2 separate regions of the Homo sapiens genome follow, and region 2 is linked to region 1. Evidence: promoter capture Hi-C in human tissues and cell types (Jung and others, 2019). All regions are on one chromosome and are shown on one strand. The core of a region is centred on a gene start or on the middle of the fragment in contact, and the rest is flanking DNA. Distances in the headings are between cores, read along the strand shown.

Region 1 (6,392 bases), core at 3,843-6,342:
CTCATATCTGCTTTTGTATTCAATGTGTCCTAGTAAGTTTTGGTTAAAGCATATGAAGAAAATCTGGCCTCAGAGGTATGTAGTTGGAAAAGGAAGATTTTAATAGTCTTTTCAGATACTTGTATGTTCTTTGATACTACACACAATCTTGACAAGAGGTGATTTCTTAAGTTGCACTGTGGAATCTAACACCAAATCAACAAACGTTTCATACTGTTACATTATAATTCATTGGTCTATTTTGAACTATGAATGGACTTTGTAACTTCACACACCTGGAAAACTTGGAAAAAACTGACAGAGGTATGATCTTCCATATGTTGACCCTTTTCATTCTACAGTATTAAGATGCCACATTTCATTAATGTCACTGTCTCTTCAGAAAAGTTCTTACTTTAGTGAAGTTGTCAAGCTAATGGTAGCAGATACTAGTTTTGTAAAACTTTTTTCATGCTGGAAAGCCCAAATTTTATCACCACCAACAAATATGGTCACTTGTTTCCCTTGAAGTGTCAGGCTAATTTTATTCGTTTTTGCAAAAATGTTGAACACAAATCCAAGTTTGAATTACCAGCTTATCAGCTTTTCTTTCAAGTAAAAATGATATTTCATGAAAGTGTCCAGTTGTTTGGAATACAAATTATCACAAATGCTTTTCCTTGAGACAACTGCTGTACATTGGTATGCAGAAGAGGTTTGTGTAGTATTCCCCACTTTGTCACATGAAATATTGAAAAGATGTGTACTCAAAGGTTAGGATGTACCAGTGTATGAGATTAATCTCTTCAGGTTAATAAATTTTTATTGCATTGTCAGAGACACTAACTTTTTTTTTGAGATGGAGTCTCCGTTGCCCAGGCTGGAGTGCAATAGTGCAATCTCAGCTCACTGACCTCTGCCTCCCGGGTTCAAGCGATTCTCATGTCTCAGCTTCCCAAGTAGCTGGGATTACAGGCATGCGCCACCACACCTGGCCAATTTTTATATTTTTAGTATGGTTTCACCATGTTGGCTAGGCCGGTCTGGAACTCCTGACCTCAAGTGATCTACTCGCCTCCACCTCCCAAAGTGTTGGGATTACAGATGTAAGCTACTGCACTCAGCCATTTATTTATTCATTCATTTATTTATTTATTTAGAGACAGGATCTTGCTCTGTTGCCCAGGGTGAGTGCAGTGACGCCATATCACAGCTCACTACAGCATCAACCTCCCTGGCTCAAGTGATCCTCCTACCTCAGCCTCCCAAGTAGTGGGGACTACAGGTGCACCACCAAGCCCGAATGTTTTGTTTTTATTTTTTAGAGATGGGGGTCCCACAGTTTTGTCCAGGCTGGTCTCTAACACCTGGATGCAAGTGCTTCTCCCACCTTGGCTTCCCAAAGTGCTGATATTACAGGTGTAAGACACTATGCCCGGCCAAAAACCTCTTTTTTGAGACAGGGTTTTGCTCTTGTTGCCCAGGCTGGGGTGCAATGGCGCGATCTTGGCTCACCGCAACCTCGGCCTCCTGGGTTCAAGTGATTCTCCTGCCTCAGCCTCCTGAGTAGCTGTGATTACAGGCATGCGCCAGCACACCCGGCTAATTTTGTATCTTTAGTAGAGATGGGGTTTCCCCATATTGGTCAGGCTGGTCTCAACTCCCGACCACAGGTGATCTGGCCGCCTCAGCCTCTCAAAGTGCTGGGACTACAGGGGTGAGCCACTGCGCCCGGCCATGCTATAGATTTTTATAGGAAGTTAGTGTAGTGGGAAAAGCACGGAAAACTCGAAAGTCATTTTTTTTAAAAGCTTAAATAGAAATTACACTATTGGATATTCTGTCATAATGTCGAAAATGTCAATTTTCTCCAAATTAACCTCTGACTTCAATATAATTACATTTAGTATTACAGCAGGCCTTGGTGGGAGATTGCAAAAACATCCTAAAATATATTCATGTGGAAATACTGAATTTCAAAGAATTCTAGAAACACTGCTAAGAGGGAATTCAACAAATAAATTGCACCCTAAGCCATAGTAGTGAATAATAGATGCAGTAACAGGAAGATCAGAATAGATAGCTCAGAAGCTATCTCACCTACTATGGAAATTAGGTACTTGATTTTTTAAAAAGTGGCTTCAAAAATTACTGGGGAAAGGATAGGTAAGCAGGTAGTGCTGACCAAACTACACTTCGGAGAGAAAAGTGGATTTGGCTCTTTACCTCACCCTATACAGAAAAATTGCTTAAGAGTAAAGCATTTTTTACTTTTTTTTTTTTTTTTTTTTTTTTTTACGTTTTTTACTATAAGCATGAGGGCAATGGGGAGTATCTTGGGACTAGGGAAGTTCGTATTAAGACTTCTTAAAATGCAAACCATAAGGTGAAAAATTTATGGATTTTATCACTTCGTAATCATTATGAGATCAGATCAAGCAAGAACCATCAATGGATGCTAAATCTAGAGAGAATTTTTGACGAAGAGTAAGTACCTGCATAGCCTTAAGGTGCCTCACCACAGTGCATTTTGCAAGAGGAAAACTACCTCTAAGGTGGAGGAACAGCCAATGGAGAGAAAATTACTGTATCCATGTGAAACTTAAGTTGGTAGTCAACTCTAGTATGTGTAACAGAACATTCATAATCTTAGGAAATACACATGGAAGTATTTGTAATGTAACTTTCAAAAACAGTTGATAAAAAATAGGGCAATATTGTAAATGGAGTAAACATGTTAATAGGATTTTGTCATAAAAATTAAGGAAAATTTTACCAATCTTAAAAAGCTTAGTTGGCTAGGATAAAATATTTGCAACATTTAAACCAGAAATTATCTAGAATACAAGAAACTCCTGGAAATCAACCAGAGTAGCCCAGTGGAAAGGTGGGCAAGGATTGAACAGGGAATTTACAGAAGGGTAAACCAGATAGAATGGCTAATCATTTTGTGTAGATTGAGAACAATGCCAAGAGAGGAAAAACAAATAGAATGATAGCTTTTATGCAGTGTCATTTATATACAATTAAAATACATGCGTATCTTCAAAACAGTATTTCAAAATTGCAGCTGCAAAGATATCAGAGGAGGTGTTTATAATTAGGGAGAGGAATGGAAAGTAAAAGGACCCCAAAAATAGAATAAAAGTAGAGAGGGATGCTACACACACATGTCCATGAGCTCAAGAGTTGGATGAATTGAACTCACCAAAGGTCCCTAAGATAAGGGAGGAGAAAGTGACAGCTCCCACGCTCTTAATTTGGCTTAATCTCAATGTGTTCGAGTTTTCATTACAGCTCAGGGTACCAGCCCCCACCTGCTCACTTTCCTACTCATTTATGTTTAAACTTCCTGGCTTTCTCACCACACTTGAACCCTACTCCCGGCACACCTTTGGGCGTGTCAGGAACACGTTCATCACAAACATTTTTTGTGCCACAAAGGGACTTTCCCAGCTTTGGCCAAGAGTACAGGTGCCCATTCCTGAGAGTTTCAGCTTCACATTAAAAAAAAAAAAATGAGACATAATTAAGGGACCATAAAATTCACCCGCTTAAAATGTACAATTCAATAGTTTTTAGTATACTTAGTTGTGCACTCATCATAATCCTAGAATATTTTCATCCAAAAAAGAAAACCTGTACCCATTATTCAGCTTCATTTTTAATCGTGTATATCTCCCCCCAGGAGTGGTAATAAAACTTTCAGGCTGGTCACCTTCCAACGAGAAAAAACATGCAGCCTGGGGCTCCATGGGAACGGGTTATCACTTGGCAGGCCTGGGTAAACAAAAGGCTTGAGCCGGCCCTGCCAAGATGTCTTTTTCAATGTTTTTGAAAAGATAATAAATGTGCATGGCAGTGGTAAAAGTGCCTACTTAGGAGGCAACCCGTTTAGCAGTTTCTTGTGTGTCTTCTCGGAGAGATCCTCCTCAGAGGTTTTTTGTTTTATTTTGCTTTTGAGACAAGGTCTCTGTCGCCCAGGCTGGAGTGCAGTGGCGTGATCACTGCAGTCTCGACCTCCCGGGCTCAAGCGATCTTCCCGCCTCAGCCTCCCAAGTAGCTGGGACCACAGATGAGTCGCCATGCCCAGCTAATTTTTAAAATTTTTTTGTAGAGACGGGGGTCTCGAACTCCTTAGCTCAATCAATCCGCCCGCGTCAGCCTCCCGAAGTGTTGGGATTACAGGCGGGAGCCACCACACCCGGCATCGCGGAGGTTTCAGTCAGCATTATTTACGCCTCAGGAGAAGAGGAACCAAATTGGCTGCGGAGTAGGGTGTCGTTGAAAGGCCTAGGTCGGCCTACGGCGCGTGCCGCTGCCTCTTAGTTGAAGATCGACCCCAATAGCTTGCTGCTGTCCCTCTCTGGGTGACCGCACGCTGAGGGTGGGGCGTCACTAAACACTGATTACCCGTGCGCCTCGAAAACTGGAACCTAACTATGCATGGAGGGCGGGTCCTCTGGCGTCTGCACAGATGTCACTGGCCCAACTGGCACCCACCTGGGGGCCTAGCCAGAAATTGTTCCCAAGGCTGCATTGCTGAGTTTGCATGCAGACACCCAGTGAGTGTAAGCGTGTGCGTGCTGAGTGAGCACGTGTGTGCGCGTTATGTGCTCTGTGTTCACACATTGAGTGAGGATGTGTGTGCACGGTGTCTGAGAAACTGCACCCTACATCTACACACGCTTTGAGTGTGTATCTGCTACTGTGAGAAGATGCATTTACGCTGGGTGTGCACGTTGTGTGTGCATGTTGCATGTAAGCATCGTATGAAGAACTGTGTGCGTACGCACGCCTTCTGTGTGTGCACTGTGTACAGCAGCGTGTAAGGACGCGTGCACGCCCGTACGCGCTGTGTGAGGACTGTTGTGCACATTGCATGCACACGCTACAAGCGCGCGCCGCGTGAGAACCGGTGCGCCTATCGCACGTGCACGCCCTGCGTGCGCTGTGCGTGGAAGCGGTGCGCCTATCGCACGTGCACGCCTTGCGTGCGCTGTGCGTGGTAACCGGTGCGCTTATCGCACGTGCACGCCCTGCGCGCGTGCTGCGTGAGGACGCGTGCGCATGCGGACGCGCGCGGGTTCGGTGCGGCGCGGCGGGCTTGGCAGTGCGCCTGTGCGGCCGGCGCATCCCGATGGAGCGCGGCGGCGGCGGCTCCGGGACGGGATCCCGGCCTGAGGGGACTGCGCGGGGAACCTCTCTCCCAGGGAAGATCGCAGAACCGGGCGCGGTGCGGACCTCTCAGCCCAACTACCGGCCTCAAGGTATTATCCCCAGAGTGTGGCGGGCGCCCGAGGGCTTCGGGTTCCTGTGGGGGGGCGGGCCCGGCGGCCCAGGGCAAAGGTCCTCGAGCGTGGGGGGAAGGGGCACGGCGCAGAGCTGAGATAAACGCCCTTTCCCTGGCCCAGGATCGTCCGGACGTGCATCCAAGGGCCGCACCCCTCTCTGTGCGAGTGGCGGGGTTCTTTCTTGGGGCGACCTGGGTGAGTGGGTACACATGGGGGGTGGCTTAGGGTGGGCGGCAGGTGTGTTTGGGATGGAGGTGCCTGAGGGGGTGCTGCGGGTCCAGTCCCCGTCCTCGAGGAGCAGCCGGCATGGGGGTCGTTAGGATAAACCGAGCGGGGTTCTGGGGTTGCCCCGGCCTCCGCGCGCGCTCTCTCTGCGTTCTGGGAAACGCGCGCGAGCGCCGCTGCAGCCCGCGGCGAAGGTGGCCCAGCTTCGCGCCTCTTGGCGTTTCCAGGGGGCAAAATCGGCGTGTCACCCATTGGCAGAGGCAGATTCGCCCGGGCGGCCAGGCGTCTGCCCCGGACCGGGTGCTCCTCCCGCCCGGATGCGCTCCCTGTCTTGGGAACGCTGCTCAGGTGGCCGGGCCGCGGCCCTCAATCGAGGCAGCGGGGCAAACAAGGCTCTCAGCCCTCGAGGCTGCCGATGCTGGGAGCCATGGAGGGCTGGTCCCTGGCTGCCCAGAAGCCAGCGAGGCAGCGGAGGAGACTGTGAGGACATTTGGCAGGATTTTAGATAAGCAGGTCTGATGCTAACGTTCTGTAAAGTGGTTGCAGGTAGTGCGGGGGTGTAAGCAGCATGGAAACCGATTTCATGCTGTTTTTCCTGACAACAACTTTTTTATTTTTAGTTAATAAGGCAGGCTATTTTTAAAACATTTTTTATTGCAGTCTAATATGCATTTAAAAAACCACACAAAACTATAATTCGATGAATTATCACATAGTGAAGATGGGAGTATTTTATATACGATGGGCCAAGAAAAGGAAAGAAATCAAGAGAAATCTTCTTAAAACACGCTTTTTCACTGGGGTTGAGGGGGCGAGGTAGTATTTTCTGACTGGGCCTTCAGTTGCATCATTCTTAGGAGGAGGAGATAGCTTAAATCATTTCCAGTTTGTATT
Region 2 (6,400 bases), core at 3,557-6,056, 150 kb after region 1:
GGAAAAACTGCATAGTGACAAGAAGCCTTTATATTTTAGTTTCACCATAGTGTCTTCAGAAATTTGCAAAATCGAGGTGCATAATATATGAGACATACACTTATTTATTCTGTGGTCTGTGCACGGTAGCTATATGATAATTCATGAGCCCATGGCAGTCGTTCTAGAAGCCACCAGGGGTTTGGGACCACTAAGTTAGGAACTACTTAATATTCGTATCAGAACTGAGGAGGACTACTGAGTTGTAAATAATAGCTAGTATAGGAGATTATACCTACTTATGTGTTTTTAAAATTCAGTTTCCGAAGCTATCAGTTTCTTTTAAAGACTGAAGAATATTTGAAAAATCAAGTTTAGAAGTGCCTTTTAAAATTTACTTATTTGACATTATTTGTTTTAGCAAAAAACCAGAAGCAAACTAAATGTCTAATAATGTTCAATTATATTTTGGGCATATTTGTCTGGTGGAAAGTTAGGCAGCAGTTGAGTATTAGAAATTGTAATTCTGACCGGATGTGGTAGCTCACGCCTGTAATCCCAGCACTTTGGGAGGCCAAGGTCGGAGGATTGCTTGAACTCAGGAGATCCAGACCAACCTGGGCAACATGGCAAAACCCCGTGTCTACCAAAAATACAAAAATTAGCCAGGTGCGGATGTGCACGCTTGTGGTCCCAGCTACCTGGGAGGTCGAGCATCGCTGGAGCCTGGGAAGTTGAGGCTGCAGTGAACTGTGATCGCACCACTGCACTCCAGCCTGGGAGAAAGAGCAAAACCCTGTCTCAAAAGAAAAGAAATTTTAAAAGAAGAAATTATAATTCTTAGAATCTAACAATTTAAAAAGCAGAGTATACCATCACGTATTCCTAAACATTTAAACTGTGATTATATGAAGTGTTTCTGTACATGGTGAAAGACAGGAAAGTAGTAGTGCTTGTATTCAGATAGAGGAATTCTGGGTAATTTTTCCTCTTTTTGGAATACTTATTTAGCAGTTGCTGTTGCCAGACACCAATAAGCTCTTTTTATGATTTAATTTAGGGGTCATTAAACTACAATGCATTTGACTTGCCGGGCCTATTTTTGTATGACCCACTTGAGCTAAATAGTTTTTGTACTTTTATTTTTTTAATTTGACCAACATAGTGCCTTTAACCTAGTATATTCAAAATATTTCAACATGTAGTTAATATTAGAAATACATCAATAAAATATTTTACATTTTTTATATGAACTCTTTGAAATCTGATGTGGATTTTACACTTACGACACATCTCAATGTTGTCACATTTTTACATTTTTAAAGAGTTGCTTTAAAAAAAAGAAGAAACAGATGTGACAGAGACCTTACATGGCCTGCAAAGCCTAAAATAGTTACCACTTGGCACTTTGCAGACAGTTTACTGACCCCTGATTTAATTCATTTTATCCTGACAACATTCCAATAAGAAGGGGTGCTATTATTATCATTTCCATGTTAGAGATGAGGAAGCTGAGGCACAAAGGGTTTAAGTCAATTGGCAGCATTCGCTATGTTTTAGATCAAATTGTAGGGTCTTTCTACAAACCTGCTAATCCTGTGTTTCTTTGCAGTGTAAAAAGTGGATAGTGGCTCACGTGTCAAAGGATGGCACGGTCACGATCTAGATCCCCCAGGTGGAAACACAGGTGAGCAGTTCTTAGCAGAGTAAGCTTGGATTTGGGATGTGCTGTGACTTTCAATTTCACCAGTACTAGTAAACACTTAAGCTCATGGGACCTGGTTATTCACAGTAGGTACTTTATCATAGTGGAGGTTGTATTTCTACATTCTAGTAGCTGACAGCTTTGTTTAATCATAGCAGGTGGCTAGAGTTAAATAATGAAAAGCAGTGCAGTGGCCACAGCAAGAGAGAGTGAGAAATATCTTTGAGAGTATTACATTTTTTGAATTAGTGAGCAGTTTAGAACTCCTCAGTATGGATTTCATTTTATTTTTTCATAATTAATATGTTTAAAGAAATTTCGAGTTAGAAAATAGGGAGTTTCCTCTTTCTTCTTCATGGCAGAATAATAGAGTTTTGAATAGTTCGATTATAGTCCATTTCTCCTTCCTTCTTGGTAGTATCAAAATTATGTATCATTAGATTGGAACAATTTAACCAGTCTTTATTGTACACCTGCTACAGGCAGGTTCTTGGGCTACAAAGGCAAATATGCCATCTTCTTTGGCCTCAGCAAGCACGTGGTTGGGCTGGGAGATTGACACCATGGCCAACTATGATACAGTGGGGAAAATGCTGTGCTACTTATTGGGACAAAGGATTCTGGATTTCTAGGGAGGAAATAATTCTGTTTTTGTGGAGGAAAAAGAGGGTACTAAGAAAGTCTTCAAAGAAGAGATGAAAACAATTTTATCTGGGCGTTTCAGGATGTGTAGAACTTCTAAAGGCAGAAAGAGTGAAGAGAAATATTCTAGTTAAGGGGGAGAGCAGGAGCAAAGGCACCGAGCTGTAAATGTGACTAGTATTTTCTAGGACTTAAAAAGGACCATCATTTCACACAAAAAAGGCAGACCAAGATTTTTCATGTTAAGATAACTTGCCCATTTTGCTTGTGCATTTCAGTTATGCAGTAACTAATCAATCATTTTGTCAACAGTTTTCATTTTGTAATTCACAGGAGCCACTTGCAATGGCAAGGAACTTGAGAAAGAAAAGGGAATGTATAGAAGTGAATGATTTTAACAGGGTATCACAGAGGTCATTTATTTTTATTTTTTTTATTTTTATTTTGTTTTGAGATGGAATCTCGCTCTGTCGCCCAGGCTGGAGTGCAATGGCGTGATCTCAGCTCACTGCAAGCTCCGTCTCCCGGGTTCACGCCATTCTCCTGCCTCAGCCTCCTGAGTAGCTGGGACTACAGGTGCCCGCCACCACGCCCGGCTAATTTTTTGTATTTTTAGTAGAGACAGGGTTTCACTCTGTTAGCCAGGATGGTCTCCATCTCCTGTCCTCGTGATCCGCCCGCCTCGGCCTCCCAAAGTGCTGGGATTACAGGCGTGAGCCACTGCGCCCGGCCCACAGAGGTCATTTCTTGATAAGACAAAAGGCGCTGATGAGGGGCACAAGAGACCCTGCCAAGCTTAGTGCCTGAGTTCCAGGTTCCTTCTCAGGTTTCTTTGTTAAGAACTATAAAGGATCTGATATTTTACCTTACTTGCAAACTAACACATTATTAGCCTGCCACAGGGCACTCTTGGGTCAGAGACAAAGGCCTTTATTACTCAGAATACAGCAAGCAGCTTGAGCTTCATGTTCCTGTCATTCCCCCCACCCTCTGGGTCCCGTGAGGGCTGGGACTGCAGAGCCACTGACTGGATGGATGCCGTGAGGCAGCGAGCTTTCCATACAGGCAGTGGGGTTATAGTACAACTGAGGAACATGAGTCCCTTATCAGGGGCTGCAGATAAACCCATCATGCAGCCTTTGCCTTGGAGGAGACATTTATTTTATTATCCTGGACAGCAAACACATCAGCCCTTTTCCCTGAGTGAGACCCTATCTCTATCTTGCAACACTGCCTTAGAACAAAGGTTGTCAGTGCCTCTGCTCACAGGGCGCTCGCAAGGCGTGCAGAACTCAAGAGACTGTGGAGAATTATCTCCCAACAGACTCCTTGAGTCTTTTTTGTTCCTTTAGGAAAACCAAAAACAATAGCAACTGTTCCAGCAAACTTCTTCGGAAGAAAGGGACACTGTGCTATGAAACATATAAAATAGCATATCAAACCGATATTGAATGTGAAGTAAGGATTAAAAGTAAGTTATTGGGAATTCCATCCAGACTGCAAGACCTTTGACTCTGGCTGCCAGCTTTTCTCCTTGGCTGTGAAAGAGATGAAATCTTCCAGGAAGTCCTCAGAGGCTCCACTTGCTTCCTCCTGTGATGAGGTGTAGCCAGCTGGATGGCAGAGTTTCTGCTTTAGCTAAATAACACTTGCCAGTATGTCTAGCTTGGTGACTCCAGAGGGCAATATTGCCAAGTTCAGTATATAACTCCTAGTAGGTACATGAGGAAGGTAGATCTGCCTCCTTTCTTGTAGGGAGGGCACAGACTTATCATCGAAAGGAAAGGGTTTCACTCATGGTTGCGCCAACTCCATGGCAGCTTCTAAGAGAGAGCCATAACAGAAGCTGCAAGGATCGCTTCCTCATTGATTAGAAGACATTAAACCCTCAGGGAGGAGATGGAGAAATTGGGCAGCTCAGATGGTGGAAAGGTCCCCAGGTGCAAAATGGAACTTTATTGTGTCCCAGATAGTGGCACACCTCTCTTTACGTCTAGGCAACCCAGACTGGTTTCCCTGGATACAGAAGCCTTCCGCCTTAGTGGAAACACAAGCCTCAATGTTGGCAATGCTGAGGTATGGAGAAGGTAGTTCCATAAAGGATGTGCTGTCCCTGGAGAGCATTGTAGCTGCTTTAAAGTATAACTTCACCGAAGTTACAAGCTCTGTTCGAACAGCACATCTTTCCATAGATATGCAAAGGAACAGATCTGGGAAAGAAAAGCAACTTACCTATGTTAGAGGTATTTCTGGAGGAACTAAGCATGAGATTCAAGTCTTAAGAGCCTCTTGTTCCCCCTTTTCCCCCGGTTAAGTACATATGTTTTGTTCCTTGATACAGCCTTAGTAGAGAAAGTAGACAATCAGCTGGAGAAACTCTGGGCCTGGCTTGGGTCTGAGTTTGAATTGTAGCATCATTAAATCTTAGACTCTAATTTATTGTCAGAGGTAATGTTCAGTTTGCTGGAGACCCTCCTACACATTGATTTGTGTGAGTCTTGCCTTCCTGCTTGTTTCTTACCTGGCCTTTGAACTGGATGTAAGCTTTTGTTGACTGGCCCTTTGAAGTCACTGCATCTTCTTTTGCCAGAACTTTGCTGTCAGCAGTCTTCCAAAATGGATCCTGCTGTGCACCTAAGCTGGCCCTCCTCCAATGGGACAGGTGTGCTCAGCTCATTTGGATAAGCACGTGGAATACCTTAGTTCAGATGGAAAGAGTATGCTTGTTGGTTGGGCAGTACCATAATCAGACCCCCAGATGTACAATTTAGAATGCAGATGTAGCAAATTGATGAATTTAGTTTGAGTGGAAGAAGCCGAGGGATCCTAGGAAAAGCAACTGTTTTTGGTAGGTCATATTGAGACACGCTTAGTTGATTAAATGGTTTACACTTTTCTGTGTTTGTTTACATAGGTCTTTATCACCAGTACCTAGAAATGCTGAACACTACAAGCAAAGACATTCACACGGGCATTATGGCTGTGAATATAGGAAGGATCCAAAAAGACCCGTCGCGTGGAGAATGGACAGTGAGAAACATGGACAGAGTAAACCAAGGATTCCCTCTCGTGGAAATATATATTACCAGTCTTATGAACATAGATCACCTTCCCCTAACATAAGAAACTCTTTAGAAAATGTTTATATGTATAAGCCTCACAGAGGATATTCGCCTGGAAGAGGGGACAGTAACAGGAGAGCTCAGTATATGCCCAAATACTCAGAGGGTATACCCTACAAAGAGCATGAAAGGAATTCTTATCCCCAGAAAGTGCAAGGAGGGCATAGTCCTGATGACCACAGAGTTAGAGGAAGTGGAAAAGGAGGGAAACCACCTCAGAGGTCAATAGCAGATTCTTTTAGATTTGAAGGAAAGTGGCATGAAGATGAGTTGAGGCACCAGAGGATACAAGAAGAAAAATACTCCCAGTCAACTAGAAGAGGCTCTGAAGACTTTGAGACAAGGAGCTCATTTCAGAAGAGGTATAGGAAAACATTAAACCTGGGTAATTTGGTATAAAGCCTCAAGTGAAAAGATCTGTTTACTTTATGGTTGAAGATAACCACCTTGAAAAGCTTTTGTCTAAAAAGACAAAAAGCATTGTAATTTAATTATGGGGTACTGGTAGTAGTGAAGTATTTCTTTTTAGAGTAAATCATGTTGATGGCTAGAATACTTTTAAAAGATGGTATTTTCCTCTTTAACTGCCTTGTGCCTATAGAATTGGCTTAAAGGGTTATAGATTAACTTGCCACTGCATTCTGCATTTAAAGCCATGCTGCCCGACATTCTACACATATAAATTCTCCCTTTCTTCTCTCTATTGCAAGTGTAAACTGCTTTATGTCAACACAGGTATCCTGAGGATCGTGATTTCAGAAAATATGGACACACATCAAAAAGACCTAAAGACGTGGAGAGGTATGAAAGCAGAGAGCCTGCCAGGAACCCAAAGTGGAAGCCTGAGCATTCCCTCCCACCTTACCAAGAGGACACAGACCAGTGGAACCTTGGGCCCCAAACTTATCGACATGCTGAGAGGGAACACCCAGAGACCAGTTCAGCAACCAAA

Evidence for each region. The method cuts DNA at HindIII sites, captures the fragments that hold promoters and counts their contacts. A contact is called where the count stands out against the background at its distance.
Region 2: a contact is called between a fragment that was not itself captured here and the fragment with the promoter of MAP7D2 in region 1, in 2 of the 25 tissues and cell types used here (pancreas and thymus).

Annotation. Positions count from the first base shown.
Region 1 is chrX:20,115,607-20,121,998 of GRCh38, reverse strand. MAP7D2 (MAP7 domain containing 2) reads left to right here and starts at 5,092. Exons shown (of 17, transcript NM_001168465.2): 1 at 5,092-5,249. The coding sequence starts at 5,120. The HindIII fragment of the contact is 9,946 bases long and covers 2,280-6,392 here.
Region 2 is chrX:19,965,490-19,971,889 of GRCh38, reverse strand. BCLAF3 (BCLAF1 and THRAP3 family member 3) reads left to right here. Exons shown (of 12, transcript NM_001367774.2): 2 at 1,592-1,666; 3 at 5,241-5,810; 4 at 6,184-6,400. The coding sequence starts at 1,626. Among named protein-coding and RNA genes, the nearest start is that of BCLAF3, 22 kb to the left of the region's middle. The HindIII fragment of the contact is 4,800 bases long and covers 2,407-6,400 here.